Linked DNA regions of Homo sapiens: regions 2, 3, 4, 5, 6 and 7 are each linked to region 1. Evidence: promoter capture Hi-C in 16 types of primary human blood cells and fetal thymus (Javierre and others, 2016). All regions are on one chromosome and are shown on one strand. Each heading gives the region's core, a stretch centred on a gene start or on the middle of the fragment in contact. The rest is flanking DNA. Distances are from core to core; before and after follow the strand shown.

The links. The method cuts DNA at HindIII sites, captures the fragments that hold promoters and counts their contacts. A CHiCAGO score of 5 or more calls a contact.
Region 2: a contact is called between the fragment with the promoter of POLM here and the fragment with the promoter of TMED4 in region 1, in 13 of 17 cell types (naive B cells, fetal thymus, monocytes and 10 more). The highest score is 11.1, in naive B cells.
Region 3: a contact is called between the fragment with the promoter of AEBP1 here and the fragment with the promoter of TMED4 in region 1, in 17 of 17 cell types (naive B cells, total B cells, fetal thymus and 14 more). The highest score is 11.8, in naive B cells.
Region 4: a contact is called between a fragment that was not itself captured here and the fragment with the promoter of TMED4 in region 1, in 3 of 17 cell types (naive CD8 T cells, monocytes and total CD8 T cells). The highest score is 7.9, in naive CD8 T cells.
Region 5: a contact is called between the fragment with the promoter of SNHG15 here and the fragment with the promoter of TMED4 in region 1, in 5 of 17 cell types (fetal thymus, monocytes, neutrophils and 2 more). The highest score is 9.8, in fetal thymus.
Region 6: a contact is called between a fragment that was not itself captured here and the fragment with the promoter of TMED4 in region 1, in 2 of 17 cell types (M0 macrophages and naive CD8 T cells). The highest score is 5.5, in M0 macrophages.
Region 7: a fragment that was not itself captured here is called in contact with the fragment with the promoter of TMED4 in region 1 in 12 of 17 cell types (total B cells, naive B cells, monocytes and 9 more); the score reaches 10.2 in total B cells.

The regions. Positions count from the first base shown.
Region 1 is chr7:44,580,327-44,583,847 of GRCh38, reverse strand. TMED4 (transmembrane p24 trafficking protein 4) reads left to right here and starts at 1,617. Exons shown (of 5, transcript NM_182547.4): 1 at 1,617-1,801; 2 at 2,025-2,125; 3 at 2,274-2,399; 4 at 2,609-2,755. The coding sequence starts at 1,642. RefSeq lists an enhancer at 1,134-1,243 and silencers at 1,334-1,493, 1,894-1,993. The HindIII fragment of the contact is 9,471 bases long and covers 1-3,521 here.
Region 2 is chr7:44,081,280-44,084,800 of GRCh38, reverse strand. POLM (DNA polymerase mu) reads left to right here and starts at 2,271. Exons shown (of 11, transcript NM_013284.4): 1 at 2,271-2,550. The coding sequence starts at 2,363. RefSeq lists a silencer at 1,706-2,285 and an enhancer at 1,997-2,497. The HindIII fragment of the contact is 8,170 bases long and covers 1-3,521 here.
Region 3 is chr7:44,102,744-44,106,264 of GRCh38, reverse strand. It overlaps AEBP1 (AE binding protein 1), which reads right to left and starts at 1,920. Exons shown (of 21, transcript NM_001129.5): 1 at 1,347-1,920. The coding sequence starts at 1,599. The HindIII fragment of the contact is 6,426 bases long and covers 187-3,521 here.
Region 4 is chr7:45,029,803-45,033,323 of GRCh38, reverse strand. The region is part of intron 1 of CCM2 (CCM2 scaffold protein); the gene reads right to left. Among named protein-coding and RNA genes, the nearest start is that of CCM2, 31 kb to the right of the region's middle. The HindIII fragment of the contact is 3,779 bases long and covers 1-3,430 here.
Region 5 is chr7:44,984,703-44,988,223 of GRCh38, reverse strand. It overlaps SNHG15 (small nucleolar RNA host gene 15), which reads left to right and starts at 1,528. Exons shown (of 3, transcript NR_152597.1): 1 at 1,528-1,699. It overlaps SNORA9 (small nucleolar RNA, H/ACA box 9), which reads left to right and starts at 2,714; the gene lies at 2,714-2,846. RefSeq lists enhancers at 935-1,682, 1,718-1,837, 1,683-2,429 and a silencer at 2,956-3,136. The HindIII fragment of the contact is 12,531 bases long and covers 1-3,521 here.
Region 6 is chr7:44,936,421-44,939,941 of GRCh38, reverse strand. No RefSeq gene overlaps it. Among named protein-coding and RNA genes, the nearest start is that of MYO1G, 41 kb to the left of the region's middle. The HindIII fragment of the contact is 1,716 bases long and covers 961-2,676 here.
Region 7 is chr7:44,919,723-44,923,243 of GRCh38, reverse strand. It overlaps the pseudogene MRPS23P1. Among named protein-coding and RNA genes, the nearest start is that of PURB, 36 kb to the right of the region's middle. The HindIII fragment of the contact is 3,245 bases long and covers 1-2,963 here.

The DNA of each region.
Region 1 (3,521 bases), core at 368-2,867:
CAGTAAGTAAACCTTGTTTGGACCCTAAATATCTAATGTACAAAATTTTTTAAGGCAATGGGGAAAATTAAACACATACTAGGTATTAAGTGATGTTAAATAATTTTTAAAATTTTGGTGGGTGTGATAATAGTATAAAGTCCTTATCTGTTAGAGACACACACTGACGTATTTATAGGTGAAATGACATGATGTCCAGGATTTGCTTTAATATACAGCACTTCAAAAAAAAATGCAGAAAGGGATACATGAAATGAGAAAGGCAGCAAACTGTTGTTGAAGTTGGATGATGAGTACAGCCCTCCGTTATTATCCAAGGGGGATAATTCCTGGACCCCTACGGATACCAAAATCCAGGTATGCTCAAGTTCTTTATGAAAGTTCATTGTAATTATTCTATTATATAAAAGTTTCGAAATTCTGTTGATAAAATGTATTTTTAGTAGAGACGGGGGTTTCACCTTGTTGGCCCAACTGGTCTCGAATTTCTAACCTCAGATGATCCACCAGCCTTGGCCGCCCAAAGTGTTAGCATTACAGGCGTGAGCCACCGCGCCCGCCTGGCCTTGATAAAAACAGTTTTAACCTTCCGTTGCTTCGATTCCATGCCCACTAAGTAACATTCCAGTTTGTTTTTCACTTTCAAAAGGATGTGCTGTAACTAGGGGATGTAAACAAGCTCCATGACCCTACTTATTCCAAGTTTTCGTTCCACTCTCCCACCTTTTTTTTAAGACAAGGTATCACCCTCGGTCGCCCAGGCTGGAGCGCGATCACTGCTTAATGCATCCTCGACCTCCTGGGTTCAAGCGATTCTCCTGCCTCAGCCTCCCAAGTAGCTGGGACTACATGCGCACACCACCACACCGGTTAATTTTTTGTAGAGACGGGGGTTTCACCATGTTGCCCAGGCTGGTCCCGAACTCCTGGGCTCAAGGGATCCGCCCGCCTCAGCCTCCCAGAGTGCTGGGATTACAGGTGCCAGCCACCGCGCCCGGCCCCAGCTTCTTAAAAGAATGATCCGAAACTATGGCAGCACTGGGCTTTTGGTCCCCACCCAAGAAATGCCCGCTCGCAGAGGCTCGCCGCGGCAGGCTCTCCCGACGTGACAGAGTGTGGGTCTGGATTCAGCCTCGGTTCTTACGAGTCAGATAGGTGGACACGCAAAGCAAAACATCACAGGGCTTTTTGTATTTAGCACAGAAAACACTTGTGAGCCCGAGCTGAGAACCCAAAAGGCACGCTTCAGGCCATCGTAGCCACCAAGCCTGGTCAGATTCCGTCCACCGTCTCCTTGGTGCTCCGAGACCCAAATCGCTGACTGGGGCCGAGGGCGGGCGTGACTGCGCAGGCGTGCCTCCCCTGCGAGATGCCGGAGGTAAGCTGCGGGGTAAGGGGCGAGAAATTAAGGGCGAACGTCATTGCGCATGCGCCCTCTACTCTCGTTGCGGGGGTAGGCGGGCGCCGGGCTGTGTGAGGGGGCGGGGCGCGGCAGTGTTCGGTACGGATGGAGTTGCAGGAGACGGCGAGTACATATCACTGCGCAGGCGTCCTCTTCCCCTAACTCTCAGGGTCGCTAGGGTGGCGCGCAGGCGCAGAGCGATGCGCAAATGTGCGCAGGCGCTTAGGGGCTGAGGCGCGATGGCAGGTGTCGGGGCTGGGCCTCTGCGGGCGATGGGGCGGCAGGCCCTGCTGCTTCTCGCGCTGTGCGCCACAGGCGCCCAGGGGCTCTACTTCCACATCGGCGAGACCGAGAAGCGCTGTTTCATCGAGGAAATCCCCGACGAGACCATGGTCATCGGTCAGGCGGGCTGAGGGTGGGGAGGCCCTTTGTACCCAGCTCAGCCCTCGGCGGCGCTCCCTCCTCCCGAGCCCAGCCGGGTCGCTGGCTCCCCCAGTACCTAGCCTGAGGGTGCCCCGAGGACGCCAGGCCCCCTGCCTAGAGCTCCGGGCCGCACGTCGGAGGGGGCCGGGCGGAGAGGCGGCCCACTAGGGCCGGTCGTGACTATGTGTCTGCCCCGCAGGCAACTATCGTACCCAGATGTGGGATAAGCAGAAGGAGGTCTTCCTGCCCTCGACCCCTGGCCTGGGCATGCACGTGGAAGTGAAGGACCCCGACGGCAAGGTAAGGCTGGCGTTGGCCCACGCAGCCGTTCTTCAGTGGAGCTCCCGTGGGGTGTAAAGCACTGCCTGGAGGAGGCCTCAAGGGACAGGAACTTGCACTTGGAGAGCCTGCGGTATAAAGGTGGGGCCTTCACTCACATATGTTGCAGGTGGTGCTGTCCCGGCAGTACGGCTCGGAGGGCCGCTTCACGTTCACCTCCCACACGCCCGGTGACCATCAAATCTGTCTGCACTCCAATTCTACCAGGATGGCTCTCTTCGCTGGTGGCAAACTGGTAAGAGGATTTTCTCTTTGGCTTCAGCTTAGAATCTCTCACTTGTTTCCAAATTTTGATTTATCAAGATTGTGAAACTTTGTAGCACAGTCAGAATTGGGGAGACAGATGTTGCCTTCTGCTCCACAGCCAGGGACAATAGTGGGTTCCATACCCTGGAACAGACAACTGGAGGCCCCACCACTCATACATTCCATGTTTCCTTGTAGCGGGTGCATCTCGACATCCAGGTTGGGGAGCATGCCAACAACTACCCTGAGATTGCTGCAAAAGATAAGCTGACGGAGCTACAGCTCCGCGCCCGCCAGTTGCTTGATCAGGTGGAACAGATTCAGAAGGAGCAGGATTACCAAAGGGCAAGTGCATATCTCCTTGTAATTTGAGAGGGCAGTTGACCTTTATACCCACTATACCTACTCAAGTTTCTGCTTGGGAGATCAGCTCTGCAGAGAATGGAATGAGAAGTATTGGTTTAGATAGGTTGTTTGTTTGTTGTTTTTGAGACGGAGTTTCACTCTTGTTGCCCATGCTGGAGTGCAATGCCATGATCTTGGCTCACTGCAACCTCCGCCTCCCCAGGTTCAAGCGATTCTCCTGCCTCAGCCTCCTGAGTAGCTGGGATTACAGGCATGCGCCACCATGCCTGGCTAATTTTGTACTTTTAGTAGAGACGGGGGTTTCTCCACGTTGGTCAGGCTGGTCTCGAACTCCCGACATCAAGTGATCCGCCCGCCTCAGCCTCCCAAAGTGCTGGGATTACAGGTGTGAGCTACCGCGCCCTGCCTGTTTTGCTTTTTTATCAAAACATTTTATTGTGGTAAAATATAACACCAAATGTGTCATTTTAACTGTCTATATAGTTCAGTGGTATTAAGTGCCTTCATAATGTTGTGCTACCAACACCATCATCCAGCTCCAGAACTTTTTCATCTTCTCAAACTAAAAATCTGTACTTATTTTGTTTTGTTTTTGAGATGGAGTCTCGCTCTGTTGCCCAGGCTGGAGCGCAGTGGCGCCATCTCGGCTCACTGCACCCTCCGCCTCCCAGGTTCAAGCGATTCTCCTGCCTCAGCCTCCCAAGTAGCTGGGATTACAGGCAAGTGCCACCATGCGTGGCTCATT
Region 2 (3,521 bases), core at 1,022-3,521, 500 kb after region 1:
AAAAAAAAAGAAATAAGAAAACCAATTTAGTCTGTGAGGTTAGATGCAAGAGGGAGGCAGTCATGTTAGATTTCTCTCATGACTTACAATTCTGCAAAGGTGGTTTCACCTCCACGGCAGGCCACCTCTCCCTGGGTATAGGGCACATCTTCGTCCTGCAGAGCAGGCAAGTCCCTCTCTCTCCCCACCTCCTCACCCCTTCTTGCCCCCACTGGCCAATCTTCATGAATCCTTCAGCCCCATGTTGTCCTAGCAGACACTTTGCAGCAACCACTCAGAGGGCCTGGCTGATTTCTAAGCTAGGCAGTTTCTTCCACTGTCATTTGGATGAGATTCCTTGCACAAACATTTTTGCACAGTTGCCCAGTGTTTTAAGTATTCAGGTCTCATAGTCTTAAAAACTGCCTCTGCCTTCCCAGGAGAGAACAAGGGCTCCAAGGGGAGCCCAGGTGCTCTGGCCAGACAGAGGACATTAAAAGGAACAGAAATGGTTTTAGACAGCTAGAGGGATCTGCTCAGGGGATATTTGGGCAGAGCCTCCTCCTTGAGAAGGGTAGGAGCCAGATCCACAGACGAAGACCCTTAGAGCCTGCCCATCCCTGCTGGCACAAGGGGAGGATGGGGAGAGAGGGACCATACGCAGGCCTCCTGGCTTCTGTATGTGGGTCCTGAGGCCCAGGAAGCTCTACAGCCCTGAAGAGGTAGATGAATTAGGAGGCTGGGAGATGGTGTAGGAGGTCAAGAGGATGCCTGGGCTGAGCCATCTCCCCCACTCCCCTCAGCCCTGTGCTCTGAGTGCAGAGATGGGGAAGAGCCAGCCCACTAAAGATGTCAGAGAGGAGCCAAAGAAAAAGGATAGGTGCTCAAGGAGTCTGGGGCTCAAGACTGAGGACGATGGGGCAGTGATGAGGAGAGGCATGTGGAAGGGGGTTGCATCTGATCTGGTGTCCCATCAGTTAGGCTGAGCAGTGCCACACTACCGTAACAGAGGTTACAAATGGAGTATATCTAAATAAGATAGACAGAAGACTTGATATTATCAAGACATCAGATTTCCCCAGCTTGATCTATAGATTCAATGCAATCCCAATCTTGGGAAAGGAATTGCTGGATCAATGTGTATTATTTTGTTTTCATTTTGTTGGATGTGGTTGCCACATTGGCTTCCACAGTCCTTCCTATGGATTGCCAATTACCTCGCACCTTCAACATGTGTGGTCAATTTTTTTGAATGTTTGATAAACCCACAACTGAAGATATTCTCATTTAGGTATTCTGTAACGACTGGACAGGTTGGGCACTCTGGTCATAAATTTATTGACCAGGATTTCTTCTAAGAATCATCTACGTGAGTTTTTTTGCTAATTTTTCTATTAAATTATTGTCTTTTTATCTATGGACAATTTGATAAGATTATCATGAGATAATCTTAATTCCAAAATATCTCACACTTTATCCCAGTTTATCTTCTGACTCTAATTTTTAATCAGATTTAAAATTTGTCTGTAGTCCAGTTTATCATTCTTTTCCTTTAGTGTTTCCAAGTTTATTGTGATATTTAGATCATAAAAACATTCACCGACTTTTTTCCAGTACGTTGTTGGTTTCCTTTTTAGATGGAAATGTTTGACCCATCTGGAATTTATTTTGGTGTTAAGGAATGAGGAAGGGCACCAACTTCTATTTTTCCAAATGGCCTGCCAGTTGTCCTAATGCCATTCGACTGAAAAATCTTCCCGCGTGTTTGAAGCGACCGCCCCACCAGCGCATTGGAAACCCGCGTGTCGGTCCTGCGCCCGCCGGCTTCCGTGTGACAGTCCCGAGCGCAGAGGGATCGGGCACAGCCCGCACGCGTCCGCCCCGAGCCGCCGGCTCAACCCTAGACCCAGCCCCGGCGCCAAGGACACAGCCCACCCCGCTCCGCCCGGGCCTAGGTCCCAGTTCACCCTCCCTAGCCGGGGACGCCCCCTTGACCCCGCCTCCTCCACCCCCTCCAACACCCTCCCCGCCCCGCTCCAGCCCAGCCTCTCCTCCCGGAGGCCAATGGGGCCGAACAGCGCTTTCCGAGACATTAATTTAAATAAAAGGCGGGTCCTCTGCCGTTATTTGCATGGAGGCGGGTCTTCCGGAGCGGCCGGGACACCCAATCCTGTAGGAGCCCGGACCCTCCCCAGCGCTCCGACTGGCCCAAGTAGCGAGCCCCACGGAGAGGCCTCATTTGCATAGGGCGGGGCCACGTCCTCTTCCAGCCGGCGGCCGCCCGCCCGCCCACCCGCTTCCGTCAGCCTCACTGGGGCTTCCTTCCGTCTCGCTCGGAGTTTCCCTCTGCGTTCGCTCCGCGCTGCTGGAGGCTGTCGTCCCAATGCTCCCCAAACGGCGGCGAGCGCGGGTCGGGTCCCCTAGCGGCGATGCCGCTTCCTCCACGCCGCCCTCGACGCGCTTCCCGGGAGTCGCCATCTACCTGGTCGAGCCTCGCATGGGTCGCAGCCGCCGGGCCTTCCTCACAGGCCTGGCGCGCTCCAAAGGCTTCCGCGTCCTTGACGCCTGCAGGTGCGGGGCGGCGCGGCGCGGCGAGGGCTTCCATGGCACTTCTGGTTTTGGATTCTAAGTTTGCAGTGGCACTTCGTGGTCTTGTGACCTTTCCCTGAGCCTCCATCTCCTCTTCTGTAAAGGGTGCTATTAATTAGGGCGAGGCGTGTTTTAAAGGATCACTGCGAGAATCAAAACCAGAGGTCAGGGGTAATTAATAAGCAGTAGGCCGGGCGCGGTGGCTCACGCCTGTAATCCCAGCACTTTGGGAGGCCGAGGCGGGCAGATCACGAGGTCAGGAGATCGAGACCATCCTGGCTAACACGGTGAAACCCCGTCTCTACTAAAAATACAAAAAATTAACCGGAGGTGGTGGCGGGCACCTGTAGTCCCAGCTACTCGGGAGGCTGAGGCAGGAGAATGGCATGAACCTGGGAGGCGGAGCTTGCAGTGAGCCGAGATCGCGCCACTGCACTCCAGCCTGGGCGACAGAGTGAGACTCTGTCTCAAAAAAAAAAAAAAAAAAAGTCGTATTTGCTAACAGCCCTTCTGCCTGGGCTATGTCCCACCTGTGAGCGAGACTGACTTCTCAAGAGGCCCGGAGCCCGCAGGCTCCTCTGTCCTCAGGCCTGAGTAAATAACACGACTGAGAAGCTCTTGTAGGAAGGGAACCAAGAGAAGAAAAAATGGCGGCTACAGAGACAACACCCAGAGTAAGGGAGCTGGGGGTGCCCCCTAGTTTGGAGGTTGAGAGAGCAAACGAACCTGGGGCTAGTATTCCCCCACAGTTGTGTTTGATTTTTTAACATTACCAGGGATCAGTAGTGCGCCAGACCCACTCAGGAGAGGATGATAGCAGCTTAGAGTGTACAAGGCACTATCTTTGTACAACAACCCCACAGGGTGGATATGTTATCTCTGCTTTACAGAAGAGGAAATCAAAGTATAGACACGTGGCTTGCCCAAGAGCCAAACAAGTATGTGGCAGGCAG
Region 3 (3,521 bases), core at 671-3,170, 480 kb after region 1:
AAAACCTCAATAGGGGTTCCTTACTATCCACTCCTCCACTATTCTGTTCTGGGCACAGAAGGGGCAGAGAGGTGACTGAGCCATCCAGGCCTGGAGGAGCATCTGGTCATCCCTGCCAACTGCCATACAAAGGAAGGGACATGGGCCCAAGACCTTCCCCTGGTCTCCTACGGGGCAAGAAAAGCTTCAAAGAAAAGGGACACTTGGTTGAGTATTGAAGCCCAAAGAAGAGGAAGTGGTCTCCTTTCGAGAAGTAAGGGGTTTGGAATTGATTGGAAGGATAGGGAGTCCTGGGGGGTTCAGGGATCACACAGAGGACAGAAAAGACAGGTAGGGAGCTTGTGGCTGCACACTCATTTCAGAGTCTGGGAGAGGGAGCAGGGACTGGTTGTGAGGATTCCCCATGGGAATCCTCCCAGGACCCTAAGCAGGAGCTGCAAGTGCTGTTGAGAACCTGATGAGAGGTGGGGAGCATGAGGGAAGTTTGGCAGAAACACAGGAAAGCTACCAAATGCAGACAGCCAGGGGACGCAGGGCTGCTAGAGCGGTGCCCCAGAGCCAGGAGAGCAAGCCTGGAAGGAGAGCCAGAGGCAGGAGGGGCACAGGCAGCCCAGGGTGTGGGAAGCAGCCAGGAAAGATCTAGAGCTGGGGTGGCAGGGGAGGGGCTGCTGACATCAGGAATGTTGGATGGTGCCTTGGAATCTCCTGGGAGACAGGGATCACAAGACCCTCTGCCACCTTCCAGAGGGCCACGATGAAAACAGCTAAGATTTACTGACAACTGATTATGCAAGAGGCCGTGGGTTAAATGCTTCAGTGATGCATCACCTCATCTAATTTCCTGTACTAATGTAGGACCACCCATTGCTCACCACCACCTGAAGCCCTGTGCTCACCACCACCTGAAACTCTCTCACCTACGTGAGACCTCCTGGAGTAGGAGGGCAAAGGCAGGAGGGAGGGACGACGTGAAGCTGTGCCACCAACAGGGAGAGTGGTCCCATTAGTATGGCAGGGGGTGACACAGCACAGTCCCCTGTGGCTCAAGCCTAGTACCTGTCGCGTACTGGAGGAATGGGGATAAGCGACCCGTACAACCACAGCACCAACCCTAGAGCCACCGGCCCCCAAAAGCGGCCCTGCCGCCCGGGTGCTGGATGTGCCTCCACGCCAGCGCTGACCTCGGCCTAGCACAGGGTCCCTCCAGGCATCTGGGCTCGCGTGCGCATTAGTAAGCCAGCCATTCCTCCCCTAGCAGACTGGGGAGTGGCCAGACCCTACCGAATCCCCCTGTTCCCACCTGAGATGCCAGCCCCCCACACCCCCGCCCTGCCCTGGGCTCTTACCTTCTGCGGCCGTCCCTGGCCGCTTCCCTGGCTTGCCCCCCGCCTGGGCTTTTCGGACCCGCGGGGTGGGCTCGGGAGGCGGCGGGGCCTCCACGTCGTCCTCCCGGGGCTCAGGTTCTAGCTCTGACAGGAAGCCCTCGAGGAACTCCTCGATCTCGTCGTCGGTCAGCACCGTCTGCGGGCGCCCTCCAGGGCACAGGGCCAGCAACGCCAGGAGGCAGCTGAGCAGGGGCGCCCCGCGCACGGCCGCCATGGCCGCGGCACGCGCGGGGGGCTCCGGGGAGGGCGCGGGGGGTCAGGGGCTCTGGGTCTCTGGGAAAGGGCGGAGAGGGGATCGAGACGGGTGAGGGAATCCAGGAAGGGGCGGGAGAGAGGATGGGGTGAGCGAGGGAATCCGGGAAAGGGAGGGAGAGTGGATTAGGGTGGGCGAGGGGACCCGGGAAGGGGTGCTGGGGGGCTCCGAAGCCAGAGGGGCTCAGGGGTGGTCGGGGCGCTCCGAGGTCCTGGCGGCTAATAGGCGCTCCGGCCCCGCGTGGCGCACTCCCGCGCGGATAGCCGTCTCCAAAGCGCTGGCGGGGCCCGGGGCGGGGGCGCCGGGGCTTCCGGAGCCGGCTCCCCACCCCCGGGGAGGAGGAGGAGGAAGAGAAGGAGGAGCCGAGAGTGGACGGAGGGGCTGCGGGGGGGCGGGGGGCGGGGGGCGGGGGGCTAGGGGCGGGGCAGGCGGGCGGGCGCTGGCGGCGAGCGTCCCAAGCCCGGAGACTTGCGCCTAGGACAGAGGGGCAGGGGGCGGGGCGACTGGGAAGACAGAGGGCCTGAGGGAAGGAAAGGTGGTGGGGAGGGCCTGGGGTGCGGGTCTGAGGGGGCCGACATCCCTCCTCCTTCTGCCCTAGGCACCCCCCTTAAGGCGGGACCCCGAGTCCACCGGGGCTCTGAGCCCTCCGCGGGTGACCAGGAACCCTGGACGGAAAGCCGTGGTGTCAGGCCTCTGAGACCTCTCTCAATTCGGAGGGCCACAGAAAGGCCACCCCATCCTTCCCAGGCTCTGGAGCCTCTGCCCATGGGCCCTGCTGCATCCCAGCGTCAATTCATTCAGTCATCCTACCAACCTCTTCAGGTCGGTGTGGGGCCGGGCCCCGTGCTGGGCCCCAGGGAGGGACAGCACAGTGGGAACTCACTTTCCAGCCAGGAGGCAGGTGCAAAACTGCCCTCAGAGTGGCCAGCTGCCCCGCTGGGGGTAGGAGTCCCATGTAAGGGCATGCCATCCCTCCCCTCCGGGTCCCAACGTGGACAAATAGCCATTTATCACCTTCTTCTTACCAGAACTCATTTTTTAAAAAGTGTCTACCATACCTCCAGCTGCCACATGGACCCAGAGGGCCCAGAGGACCCAGAAGGCAGGTGGATTGAGTGTCAACTGATCCCAGGATCCATCAGGGATGTGCACCTTGGTGCCTGGTGTTTGCCATAAGGCTTCTCCAGGGCAAATGTTGGCTGCCCTACAACGGCCATCAACAGGCAGAGTGGTCCCATTAGTATGGCAGGGCGTGACACAGCACAGTCCCCCGTGACTCAAGCCTAGTCCCTGTCTCATACTGGAGGAATGGGGAGCTAAGGACAGAGCTCCGAGGACATTCCCCCTTAAAGGAATGAGGACACAAGAGAAAGCTCACAGGTAGTCCATGGGCCAAGTGCAGAGGCAGACAGCCCTAAGCCACGATTGTCTGCGGGGTTTGGCCCCAGTGAAGTAGTCAGGTAGGGAAGCCTAGGAGCCCCTGGGATGATTGACAGGGCAGAGTTTGGACCTGGGGTCAAAAGGAAAGAGGAAAAGTGGGTCAGGAAGCACCTGGGTCCCCAGAGCAGCCCCGAGTGAGTTGGAGCAGGCAGCAGCCGGGGAGGCCACAGTGGAGGCTGCTGGGCCTGGGATACATGCCACCCCCTGGGAGCAGGACCACAAGGAGGCCTTGCCTCCTCTCACACCTGGTCCTGCCAAGACCCTGCCTTTGCTTTCTCACTGCATCTCCTTGAAAAAGCAGTGGGACTGTGTCAGGTTCTGGCTCTACCTCCCAGGCACCACATCTCGGCAGGTAGCCTCAGTGCCGTCCACCTGTGTCCCTGTTCTCCTTGTCGTTCATACAGGATCATGCATGTGCTGTGCCTAGCACACATTCTTGGCAC
Region 4 (3,521 bases), core at 292-2,791, 450 kb before region 1:
TGATGTACAGGTCATAAAATTATAGTCTCCACACAGAATTACAGTCTGCACTGGGAAGGACTCTGGCGCTCCCCCGTCCTACAATCCCACCCCTAAAGAGAGACCCTCTGCAGTTAGGCAGTGAGAAATAGTAGGAACTCTTGCAGGGCAAGGAAACCAGGACGGCCATCTGTAGATGCCTCTTATTGCCCAAGCATCACATCAATTCTTCCCTACATCGAGCTCAGCTCTTTCCTCCTCTGGCCTTTGCTCTTTTTTTTTTTTTTTTTTTTTTTTTTTGAGACGGAGTTTTGCTCTTGTCACCAAGGCTGGATGGAGTGCAATGGCATAATCTTGGTTCACTTAACTTCTGCCTCCCCGGTTCAAGCAATTCTCCTGCCTCAGCCTCTGGAGTAGCTGGGATTACAGGCACCCACCACCATGCCTGGCTAATTTTAGTATTTTTAGTAGAGATGGGGTTTCAACATGTTGGCCAGGCTGGTCTCAAACTCCCAGCCTCAGGTGATCCACCAGCCTCAGCCTCCCAAAGTGCTGGAATTACAGGCATGAGCCATTAGGCCTGGCTGCCCTTGGCTCTTACCCAGCAGCCAGCATGGAGCTTGCACAGACTGGACAGCAATAAACGCTGGTACTGACTCTTGATGGAACGCTTGGACCAGGCTAGGCATCTGGGGAGGCCCTTTGGTTAGAGGTGACACAGCCCCTGCCCTCAACGATGTCACAGTCAAGCCGAAGTAGTAAGACCAGAGTAAAGTAACTGAAATTAAATCCACAGTAAAAACAGTCAATCAATGCTGAAGACACACAGGATGCTCCAAAGGTACACTTAGGGCTCAGCCACCCTGTTCTTAAAGCTGCTGTTCTGAGCAGCAAGAGACAAGGAGAGGAATGAACAGGAGATACAACCTTCTGACTGCTCACAGACTAGCAGAGGAGGGCGACCCCGGAACGCCAAAGATAGGGCATGCCAAGGCGCTTCAGAGGAACCTGCCCCTTCTACCTGGGCCTCCAAATCACGAACATTTTAACAAGCAGATTCTGTGGACTACTTGGAGGCAGGCGTCTCTCTGGCCCTAGTCCTTAGTCTTCAATAGCAGCTACCCTAAGTTTCTTTTTTTAATGTCTCAAATAATTTTAATTGATGGGTAAGCCTTCCTAGAAAGTGGAATATTAACACTATTAAGTAAAGAAATGCATCTTTGCACATCTGCTGCAGCCTCCCTCTGCCACTCCTACCCATTCAGCACGGAATGCAGGGTAGCTGCTGTTCTCGCTGAGGATGATGGGGCTTTTCAGAGGTAATGTTTGCTCAGCTCTCAGCTGCAGGGGGTGGTAGGAGGGACAGCCGGTGCTGGGGAAGAGCTCTCTGCTATTCCAGATACAAAACTGAACAAGAAGCCACCTCAGATTTTTGGAAAAGAAGTTGCTTTTGAACACAAAATTTAAGCTGATGGCTGGGCGCAGTGGCTCACACCTGTAATCCCAACACTTTGGGAGGCCAAGATGGGAGGATCACTAGAGTCAGGACTTCAAGACCAGCCTGGGCAACAGGGTGAGACCTCATCTTTTAAAAAAAATACAAAAATTAGAACATAAAAATTAGCAGGACATGGTGGCACACACCTGTAGTCACAGCTACTTGGGAGGCTGAAGTGGGAGGATCACTTGAGCCTAGGAAGTCAAGGCTGCAGTGAGCTGTGATCACACCACTGCACTCCAGCCTGGGTGACAGAGCAAGACCATCTCAAAACAAATAATAATTATTAATTAAAAAGAAAAAAGCTGAGCGTGGTGGCATACGTCTGTAGTCCTAGCTACCTGAAAGACTGGGGGGAGAGAATCACTTGAACCCAGGAGCTCAAAGCTGCAGTGGGCTATGACTGCCCGCTGCACTCCAGCCTAAGTGACTAAGCAAGGCCCTCTTTTTTTTTTTTTTTTTTTTGACCTGGAGTCTCACTATACAGCCCAGGCTGGAGTACAGTGGTGTGATCTCGGCTCACTGCAACCTCCACCTCCCGGGCTCAAGCGATTCTCCTGCCTCAGCCTCCCGAGTATCTGGGATTACAGGTGTGCACCACCACACCTGGCTAATTTTTGTATTTTTATAGAGATGGGGTTTCACCATGTTGGCCAGGCTGGTCTCAAACTCCTGACCTCAAGTGATCTACCCACCTCGGCCTCCCAAAGTGCTGGGATTACAGGTGTAAGCCACTGCACCTGGGCAAGGCCCTGTTCTCTTTAAATCTAAAAAAAGAAAGAAAATAAATTTAAAGGAAAGTTCTAGTTAAAAAATAAATCGAGGCCAGGTGCAATGACTCACGCCTGTAATCACACCACTTTGGGAGGCTAAGGCAGGTGGATCACCTGAGGTCAGATGTTCAAGACCACCCTGGCCAACATGGTGAAACCCCGTCTCTACTAAAAATACAAAAATTAGCCGGGCATGGTGGTGCACACCTGTAGTCCCAGCTACTCGGGAGGCTGAGGCAGGAGAATTGCTTGAACCTGGGAGGTAGCAGTTGCAGTAAGCCAAGATCACGCCACTGCACTCCAGCCTGGGTGACAGAGTGAGACTCCGTCTCAAGAAAAAAATAAATAAAATAAATTGAGGGCAGGCACAGTGGCTCACACCTGTAATTCCAACACTTTGGGAGGCCAAAGCAAGAGGATCGCTTGAGGCCAGGAGTTCAAGACCAGCCTGGACAACATAGCGAGACCTGTCTCTAAAAAATATTAAAAATTAGCCTGTAGTTCCAGGCACTCAGGAGGCTGAGGTGGGAGGATCACTTGAGCTTGGGAGGTTGAGGCTGCAGTGAGTTGTGATCACACCACTGCACCCAGCCTAGGAAACAGAGTGAGACCCTGTCTGGAAGGAACGAGGGAAATAATTAAATGGTTTAGCATATTTTTAATGTACAGAATCAGGATTCCAGTAAACCATCATGGGTTCTTTAACTCACTAGAATGTACTATAGATGGACACATAGAATTTAAAAGGTGGGATTAGCCCAGGCAACCATTCTTCATTCAACATGTATTTGATTGAGTATGCCTGTTCATCACCACTAAATGATCTTGTCACCTTTGAACCTCAGAGACCAAAGGACCAATTCAGTCCCCAGAAGGAAACCAGGCTAAGTGCTATTTCTCTTCCATGAGTGGAGTCCCAGCACCAAAGTGAGGTGTGGAGTCTATCCCAGCCTAAGTCTCTCCTGAAGAAACTGAGGCTGTGAGGGTCGAAGGGACCTGCCAGAGTCCACAGTACGGAGCCAGGAGGAGGGAACACAGGGCTCTGAGTCACCATGCAGCGCTGTGCAAAGACATCCATATGGAATATATGCCACCTCAGATAACTATACAGAACTTTCTAAACTCACTCTGGAAGATGCCTAGATCCTTACAAATTCTTACAAAGTTAACGTCTTAAGCTTAAAACAACTCTTAAAGTTGGAAACCTAAAATGTACTTCTGAGTTAAAAAACTAAAACTAAATCTGGCCTACTAGGGCTTACCTAGTGAGA
Region 5 (3,521 bases), core at 279-2,778, 400 kb before region 1:
GGGCTTAGTTTCCACGTTAGTAATCTGGAAGTAACAGTTCTGCCTTATCTGTCTGTTAGGGTTTTGACACTTAGTGAAGTATGGGATTTGTATACTGTAAAGTGATTGAATGTATTTACTAGGTGCAATACATAAAATACGAGTTTCAAGCACTGCTCTGCTTTTACTTATAGAACCACGTTCTCACTTTTCTAGCCTGATCATTCAAGACCCTTGAACACATCGTCCTTATCTCCCGCTCCTCATTGAGACCCTTCCAGAACACTACAAACTTGTAATACTTAGCTGTATCACCAGCAAACCATGTCCTTCCCAATTTCAGGACCTTTCAATGTGCTTTCCTCTGCCTGGGGGTGGGTGGGGGGTGGAGAGTAGTTTCCTCCCAACCCATGAAACCTCTCCACAAAGGTAGAAGAGACAGAAAACCATTACTGAATAAGTATTAAACCAGATTGTGATGCCGTACATCACATGCAACCTGCTAAAGGCAACACAAAGACAGAAACTCACTTTTTCTATGCAGCTAAGTAGAGATAGCCCATCACATTATGTAGGTTTTGCAATTTGGAGTCAGGTGCCAAGTTAAGCCTTTGTCCTCCTAAGAAGCTGGACTCTTGGCCCTTTCGTCCCTTAACAATTGCATTTTTTTCTTTCTTTGTTTTTGAGACAGAGTCTCGCTCTGTCTCCAGGCTGGAGTGCAGTGGTGCTATGTCGGCTCACTGCAACCTCCGCCTCCCGGGTTCAAGCGATTCTCCTGCCTCAGCCTCCCGAGTAGCTGGTACTACAGGCACGCTTCACCATGCCCAGCTAATTTTTGTATTTTTAGTAGGGACAGAGTTTCACCATGTTGGCCAGGATGGTCTCGATCTCTTGATCTTGTGATCCGCCCGCCTCAGCCTCCCAAAGTGCTGGGATTGCAGGCGTGAGCCACCGCACCCAGCCAACAATTACACTTCAAGGAGATGGCTCCCAAGAAACATTCCTGAGTTGAACCTGGCCATATAAGAAAAAGACTTGAGTACATTTGGAAAGGAGAGAGGCTGAAATTTTGAAAGAAAAAGGGAGGGGGATGGTTTCTCGTCCCTTCTTTTCCTCAGGGAAAATTAAACCCTATGTATAATTTGTATTTGCCCTTCCACCTGCATCACCTTTCCCACATGCTCCCACAGGCAGGCTCCTGTTCATTCCCAAGGCTCCGTGTCCACATCGTGCTTGGATTCCGCCCGGCCCCGCCTGTGCGGCCGCACCAGGAAGGCACCACCCATTAGGGGCTCAGCGCGTCCCTCCAGGCCACGCCGTCAGGCCTCCGTCCTTTTAGCTGTAGGGGCAGATTACGTAACTCCAGCCTTCTGGTCACTAAAGGAGGGTAACAAAGGGCGGTCGAGAGACTCCACTGAGTTGACACGCAGACGCAGCCTCAGGACCCTAAACTCTACGCCCCAGCACACCCTACCAAGCGAGCGCCCGCGGCCGCGTGACGTCATCTACCCCAAACGCTGTGGCCCCGGCCACGCACGGCTTCGGGGCGGGACTACGCGGTGACGTCGAGGTGCGCGGCGCAGCGCGCGGCGTCAGTCTTGGCTGGCAGACCTGTACTCCGTACTCCGTACTTCGTAGTCGCAGCGGCGCGGTCTTCGGCAGTCTAGTCATCCACCGCCATCCTGGGCCCCACGTGTTGCCTGACCATTCCTGAGCCCAGGTAGGGGTCCTGGGGGATTGGGTTCAGTGGCGGGCGGCGTGGGAGGCTGGGCCGCAGTGAGTGGGGGCACCAGTGATTCTTGGAGACCAAGCCTTCACTACACGTGCTACTTCCTCTCAAGAGGCGGTTGAGCGCGTTCGGAACATTTTACCCGGAGGAGACTCGGGGATTACTTGATGAGTAACCTCGTGCTTCTCTTTCAGCCGAGAAGTGGGGCTTCTGCATGACCTGGGTGGACCCCAGTAGGTGGGATGGGACGTGTGGTCAGGAGGGACCTCACCGGAAGGCATGGGGTGGCGTGTAGACCTGCCGCAAGAGAGGCTGTAGAGTGGGCCAGGCGTTGCAAGGAGCTAGAGCTGGATAATGGTTCAGAGGCACAAGCTGAAGCTAACTGCGTTTGGAGCTAACTGCATTTGTTCCCTTCTAGGTGGGAGCCGTGGCTGAGGTGACGGTCTCAAAGTGGAAGAGCTTACTGTCACAGCAACTCCTTTGCAAGATGCCCCGGTAAATCACGTTGCAGAGACCCCAACTCTGCCTTCCTGGAACTAGGCCTGCGTTTTCTCTGAACCATTATTTCATGGGGAAAATGAAATCTACTTCATGTGCCTGGTCTACTTACTCCTTCAGAAGTGATTTCTGAGCCGTAAGATACATGAGAAAAAAATGAAGGGGAAAAGGCAGTATTTATATTAACTACATGATGATAAGGATGTTTCTGGTCACAGTGAAAAGCCATGCTAGAATTGTAGTGTCATAGAATAATGTGGAAGTTTAGTTCGTGTTGTCTGATCTATTTAATAATTTAATAAGGTTATCTCTTCCAAGACACCTTCCCTTCTTCCTCAGCCAGAAAGGATCTTTCCCTGAGAGTCATTAGTAGCTCTGGGCTCCTGGAACCAAGCTCAGGTGCCTAATTGAACTCTGGTCTCTTCCCACAGCCCCCAGCAGGGACTGGTGCTTAGTGAGAGTGGACTGCCAGATTCCTTGAGTGTGGGGGATTTGGGTGAATGAGGGTAGCAAGCCTCCAGCGTGCTTGGGTCTGCGGTGACCCTATGCATTCCTTCAGTGCTTGCTAGAACAGTTTTGAAACGGTTTGAGGCCTTGCCCTGCTCCATCCAGAGCAAGGTTATAGAAATTTCAGACAATGACTTCCTCCCTCCTGGATCTAGTGTCCTGGGCCTTGTATAGATCCGTGCCATCTAATGTGGTAGCCACTTGGCACACATGATTAAATTAAATTTGGAGTTTTATTTCATTTTCACACTAGCCACATTTCAGATGATCAGTAGCCACAGGTGGCCAGTGGCTACCATATTGGACCGCACAGATTAGAGGGCATTTCTGTCGCTGTGGAAGTTGTTTTGGACAATGCTGGTGTGAAAGGTGAAGGGAATCCTGAGTGTTTGCTGTGCTCCAGGCTCAGTACAAATTTTATTTTATTATACACTTAAAGCAAAAGTCTTATAAAAGTTGAGGATGAAGCCAAGAGTGGTGGTAAGGGTAGGAGTTGAAACAGTGAAGAGGAATAACAGGGAAGAGTCCTGCCCTGAGAGACTCATGGAATAGGATATTTACAAGGCAAAGCAAAGAGAACCAAAGTCTCAGTTCTGCAGAGGAGCTGAGTGCCCCAGGAGCTAGTGGAGGGTGAGGTCAATGTGTGCTCATCTTAAAGGAAAAACTCATGGAAGAGGAAGGTGCTAATGTTGAACACCTATTTTGCGCCAGACCTCTTAATTGTTTTAAATCTTTGAGGTATCATCATGAGGTCGTTTTTAAGTTCAGTACAGATGAGGGGCCCAAGGTCAGAATTATGTGTCCAGGG
Region 6 (3,521 bases), core at 569-3,068, 360 kb before region 1:
GCCTGGGCAACAACAAAGTAAGACCCTGTCTCTTAAAAAATTCAATTGTTCATTACTGGTATATAACAAAGCAATTTGACTTTTATAGATTAACCTGGTATCCTACAACCTTGCTATAATTGTTTATTAGCTTCAGGAGGTTTTGTTTTTGTTTTTGTTATTCACTACATAGACAATCATGCCATCTTTAAAAAGTTTTATCTCTTTTTTAGTTTTTATTATTTATTTATTTTGAGATGGAGTCTTGCTCTGTTGCCCAGGCTGGAGTGCAGTGGCACAATCTCAGCTCACTACAACCTCCACCTGCCAGGTTTAGGCGATCCTCCCACCTCAGCCTCTGGAGTAGCTGAGATTACAGGCGCCCGCCACCACGCCTGGCTCATTTTTGTGTTTTTAATAGAGATGGGGTTTCACCATGTTGGCCAGGCTGGTCTTGAACTCCTCACCTCAGGTGATCTGCTCACCTTGGCCTCCCAAATTGCTGGGATTACAGGCGTGAGCCATTGCACCCGGCCTTATTTCTTTTTTAAAAAGTCATCCTGGCTGGGCACGGTGGCTCATGCCTGTAATTCCCAGGACTTTGAGAGGCTGAGGTGGATGGATCACGAGATCAGGAGTTCAAGACCAGCCTGGCCAACATAGTGAAACCCCATCTCTACTAAAAATACAAAAAAAAATTAGCAGGGCATGGTGGTGGGCACCTGTGGTCCCAGCTACTTGGGAGACTTAGGCAGGAGAATCGCTTGAATCCGCGAGCCAGAGGTTGTGGTGAGCTGGGATCACACCACTGCACTCCAGCCTGGGTGACACAGCAAGACGCTCAAAAAAAAAAAGTCACCCTGTATACCTTTTGTTTTCTTTCCTTATCTTATTGCATTAGCCAGGTTGCCCAGTACAATGTTGAAAAAGAGTGGTGAGAGGGAACATCCTTGCTTTGTTCCTGATCTTAGTGGGAAAGCTTCAAGTTCCTCATCATTAAATATGGACAATACTCATTTCTATTTCTGCCATCCATTGGGTCTACAGATATCATTAAGTTTAAAACGTGACACAAACCACAGCTTGTGTTGATTAATTCCCCTGAACATTACACATTTCTTATATACTAGATTCTTTCCAACAAATGCATTGTATTTTTAAATTTTGTGTCTTCAAAAGGTCAAATTGATCTTTCTATTTCTTTTGTCACATGAATGTACATGCACAAATATATACGTGCAACATGTATATATGATCATATAGACATATATAGCAACATAGATACAGATGTTACATACATATAACCAGTTTAGCTGAAGAGCTCTAGCTCATCGGCCCCTAATGCAGAGTTTCTGGCAAGTAACTAAGTATGTCTATTCCTGACATCTATGAACAATTTGGGAAATTACCGAAGGTGGGTTTGCAGAACACTGGGCCCACTACAGCACCACCTTCCTCAACCTCCACCTGCTCCTCTCTGATTTGTGGTCCACAGAGGTTTCTCTGGGTCTTTGCTCATTCCCCTTTCCCCAGAGCACAGCTGTCTTGCAAGCACCTCTGGAAACACCTAGGAGAGAGAGTCACAGCCCATTTCTGTGGACATGCCCCAGGGTCACCTTTCTTCAATGGGTCCCACTTTGTGACGTGGCTCAGATTCAGGAGTGGAGAAAGAAGTCTCCAGTTTCCATTTTAGTAACTCAGAGCAGGGTAAGAGGTTTTGTTTTTACAGTGTAGATAAGACCCTGGTAGGCTGCCCAACTCACTCAGTCCTAGGATTGATACCATAATTATTTTAGTCATTGTTCTAATGGCTTCTAATAATGCTTTTATTGGTACAATACCTGCTAAGAAATTTATAGCAGATGGTATCATTAGGTAATGGGAACACACATATCTATAAGTCATGGCCATTGCTTTTTGGTCATTTTCACTAATCCAGACAATTAAGAAAATCCACTTTTATACTTATTCAGAGGTCCCCACTTCTGCTCCCACTGCCGTTCAGCTCAGACTTGTGTCTTGGAGAAGAGTTAATGTGCATGTGTCTGTGAGGGGTGATATGCCATCTCATCCCCTCTATCTTTTTTCCAATGTCTTACCCCCTCAGGGTCTCTCATCCACCTGGGGCCCAGCAATGTTGTGGCTGAAGAGGGGATGATTCTGGTTCCTGCCCAGTTGTGCCCCATCTGTCACTGACGCTGTTAGAGGGTGGGAGATGCAGCAGTCTCAGCTGGCAGGGGGCTTGCTATGTGACCATGCACAGTTTTATTTGGGGGGCTGACCTCTCTCATGTGGAGGACGCCCTTCACCAGAATAGAGCAGCCACGGCCCATGGGCCCCTTGAGACGTGTGTGCCTCCACCTCTTTTCTGTTTGGGGAGCCCTTTGCTCAGCCTGGAGGCCCTCCATGGGGCAGCAGGTCCTCTGCTCCACTGGCTACACCCTATGCTCCATCATTTTAGGCCAGAGAAACACCAGGGCCTCTCCTGTGCCCAGTGAGAAATGCAAGACTCAAATCGGAGTAAGTCCTTGTCTCTAGGGAACAGTACTTCCCATTCTCTTTGCACTCTGCCTCGATTCTTACCCTGCTCCTGCCTTCAGAAGTCTCCAGATGATCAATGCCTGTAAGTCTCACCCTCCTGACTTCATGGGACAGGTGTGCAGGGGAGGGCTGGGAGAAGGGCATTATTCTCAAGCTTCTAGAAAGTCTTTTCTTTGACTCTACTCTCACAGGAGCCTTCTTATAGAATGTAGTTACAAATCTCAAATCGATTTTGGAATTTCTAAAATATGGAGACAGCCTGGAGTATTGACATGGCATTCATGAATGTGCTGGGGAGACTGCCAAGCACCAGCCCAGAGAAAACAGCCTTCAGAATTTCAACTTATTTTGTCACATGTAATTTTATAACACAACCACAAAGTTTCCTTGGCTATTCAAAGAATCAATTCAGTAATTTTTTTTTACATTTATTTATTTTTCTATTTGCAAGACAGTTGTCTGTTAAGAGATGACGCTCACAAAACTTTTAAACTATGATAGATTTCAGTAAAATCACTGAATACTAAAATATAATAAAACATTAGGGCCAGGCACAGTGTCTTACGCCTGTAATCCCAGCTACTCAGGAGGCTGAGGCAGAAGAATCACTTGAACCCAGGAGGCAGAGTTTGCAGTGAGCTGAGATTGCACCATTGCACTCCAGCCTGGGGAACAAGAGCGAGTCCTCATCTCAAAAAAAAAAATTAGACTACAAAAAGCAATCAAACTCGATGCTCCCAGATAGCCTGCTCTCTGACAGTGAGTGAAGGAGCCCAGAATGTCTCCTCTAAGCTGCAGACCCCACAGTTTACTCTTTCCAAGCAATGAGCTTATTGGAGCTTATTTGAAATAAAAGGCTGCTGCATGTTCCTGTGGTCACCCACAATTCTCAGAATGACTGCCAGGTCATGGTGCAGCCATGACAGTGCTGTGACCCTGACTCTGTTCTGTGAGGTTGCATGAGGGACACCAGGTCAGTCACAGGCTGCCAGACCCAAGAA
Region 7 (3,521 bases), core at 92-2,591, 340 kb before region 1:
CTAGCCCAACCTATTCCTTTAATTTGGCCCATCCCTTCGTTTCCCATAAGGGATACTTTTAGTTAATTTAATATCTATAGAAACAATGCTAATGACTGGTTTGCTGTTAATAAATATGTGGGTAGGCCGGGCGCGGTGGCTCACGCCTGTAATCCCAGCACTTTGGGAGGCCGAGGCGGGTGGATCATGAGGTCAGGAGATCGAGACCATCCTGGCTAACAAGGTGAAACCCCGTCTCTACTAAAAATACAAAAAATTAGCCGGGCGCGGTGGCGGGCGCCTGTAGTCCCAGCTACTCGGGAGGCTGAGGCAGGAGAATGGCGTGAACCCGGGAGGCGGAGCTTGCAGTGAGCCGAGATTGCGCCACTGCAGTCCGCAGTCCGGCCTGGGTGACAGAGCGAGACTCCGTCTCAAAAAAAAAAAAAAAAAAAAAAAATAAATATGTGGGTAAATCTCTGTTCGGGGCTCTCAGCTCTGAAGGCTGTGAGACCCCTGATTTCCCACTTTACACCTCTATATTTCTGTGTGTGTGTCTTTAATTCCTCTAGCACCACTAGGTTAGGGTCTCCCCGACCCAGCTGGTCTCGGTAAAAAAGAAACAGGTGAAATTGATTGTAATCATATTTTATTTAAAATGGTTGATCTAAAACATTATAATTTCAATGTATCATCAATATGAAAATGATCGATACTACATTTTACATTGTGTGCACTATGTCTTTGACGGCCAGTGTACTCTTTACACTTACTGTACTTCTCCAGTGGACTCGCTGCACTTCAAGTGCTCAGAGCACGTGTGGGTGCCAGAGTGGACAGCATAGAGCTTCGGAGGCCTGCAGGTACTCCCCAAATATTTCAAGAATGAATGAATGAATGAACGTAGGCATGAACTGTGGATTGCCACAAGTTCTCACTGGGACCATGTCCTATACCCACCTCATCAGGGACGGCCACCAGGGGGCGCGAGAGTGCTAGTTGACGGGCTAGTTGACAGGCTCCACATGGCATTCTTGCTGAGAGCCCAGGCCTGGGGTGGGGTGTCCCGGGGCCACAGGTCTCACAGGACTCAGCAACCCAGGGCGTTGAGTCCCCATGCCCCCCACCACCACCCCCAACCATCTGCTGCCGGCCACTTTTCCATGCTTCAGCCATCCCCTGGTGAGGAAGGGGAGGAGGGCTGGCACTGGTCAGGCAAGGAGCAGGTCTGAGGGTCTCAGAGAGGGATCCCTCTGGCTGCTCAGTAAGGCACAAGCCCCTTGACTCATCAAGTGTGAGGGTCCCTGCAGAGCCGACATAATAGCTGGGAAGAAAGGCCGCTCTATGGCAGAGTCAACCCTCTTTGTGGCTCTGGCTCAACAGTGGAGAGACACCCTCCTCCCTTTTCAGGGCGGCTCTCCCACTGGGGCACCTCCCTCACTGATGCTATCTCCTCGACAACCACTGGTTTACAGCCAGCCTGTCTCTAGCCCCATTTCTCTTCCAGGTTGTCACCTCTTGATCTAGCCCGCCCATTCAGTAGGTAAGAACACCCAACCCCCACCAATCTCTCCCCACACATGCCTTCTGCGCTTCCCGGAGGTTCCTGCCAGTGGCCCTTGAGTTGCTCCTTCAGGTGCTCCCAGTAGGTGCTCCCCCAGGTGCTCTTCCTAGATGTTAGATGCACCTCCTTTTTTTTCCTCTTCCTTTGTTTTTAAGCACCTAGGGAATTTTATTTATTTATTTACTTATAGATGGAGTCTTGCTCTGCTGTCCATGCTGGAAAGCAGTGGCATGATCTCAGGTCACTGCAACTGCTGCCTCCCAGGTTCAAGTGATTCTCCTGCCTCAACCTCCAGAATCGCTGGGATTACAGGCATGTGCCACTACGCCTGGCTAATTTTTTTGTTTTGTTTTGCTTTTGCTTTTTTTTTTTTTTTTTTTTGAGACAGAGTTTCGCTCTTGTTGCCCAGTCTGGAGTGCAATGGTGCGATCTCAGCTCACTGCAACCTCCGACTTCCAGGTTCAAGCGATTCTCCTGTCTCAGTCTCCTGAGCAGCTGGGATTACAGGCGCCCACCAATATGCCCAGCTAATTTTTGGTATTTTTAGTAGAGAAGGGGTTTCACCATGTTGGCCATGCTGGTTTCAAACTCCTGACTTCAAGTGATCCACCCGCCTTGGCCTCCCAAAGTGCTGGGATTATAGGCATGAGCCACCGCACCATGCCATTTTTTTGTATTTTTAGTAGAGAAGGGGTTTCACCATGTTGGCCAGGCTGGTTTCAAACTCCTGACCTCAGGTGATCCACCCACCTCGGCCTCCCAAAGTGCTGGGATTACAGGCATGAGCCACCACACCCGGCCATTTTTTTGTATTTTTAGTAGAGACAGGGTTTCACCATCTTGGCCAGGCTGGTCTCAAAACTCCTGACCTCAAGTGATCTGTCCGCCTGGGCCTCCCAAAGTGCTGGGATTACAGGTATGAGCTACCACGCCCAGCTGGAGTTCTTTATTTAATGATGTCCTACCATGAAAGTTCACATAACTCCTTTTTTTTTCAGTTTTTATTATTCTTTTATATAAATCCTCTGGATCATAACTGCTTCTGTCAAACCATGATACCGAGCTTTATGACAACTCAGAAGTAAGGACTAAGAGAAGGCAAATATAATGCCTTCAAGATCAAGAGACGTTTATGTAGTTCAACTGTTAGAAACAGCTCAACATTGAGCTAGTGAGTAGAGTGTGTATGTCAGTATCCACAATATACAAACCCTTCACGGAGCTGCAAGACCTTTTAACTGTCCTTCAGGTGCTTCCAAATGCTGGTCCTGTGGAACTTCTTTCTTTCTGAGGCTGGTTTTCTTTCAACACAGTTTGGGGTCTGACAATCATGTGTTCAGATTTCCAGGAAACGTGACTACCTTCCTGTTGAGTCCTTGTTTCTCCTACGCATCTTAAAATGACACTTTCTGCCAATAAAGCTTTCCTTGTTTCTACAAATAACTTCTCTTCATCTGTTTCTTTAAGTTTCTGCAGCTCAATATACTTCACAAAGCATTGACAGGTAGGCTTGAAGCTTGGATTGAACAGATCAAAAGCTTTTGACCAGATTTGTAGGCTGAATAGAATTTTGCTCCAATGGGCTGGGCGCGATGGCTTATGCCTGTAATCCCAGCTCTTTGGGAGGCCAGGGCAGGTGGATCACCGGAGGTCAGGAGTTCGAGACCAGCCTGGCCAACATGACAAAACCCCGTCTCTACTTAAAATACAAAAATTAGCTGGGTGTGGTGGCGTAAGTAGCTGGTGTAATCCCAGCTACTCGGGAGGCTGAGGCAGGAGAATCACTTGAAATCAGGAGGCGAAGGTTGCAGTGAGCCGAGATCATGCCATTGTACTCCAGCCTGGGCAAAAAGAGCAAAACTTCATCTAAAAAAAAAAAAAAGAATTTTGCTCCAATGGGATCCTCATGATACCAGATGTCCTCCATGAGAATTTTGGCTTTGCCATATCATAAGTGGGGCCTCTGGAAGACTGGCTCCTT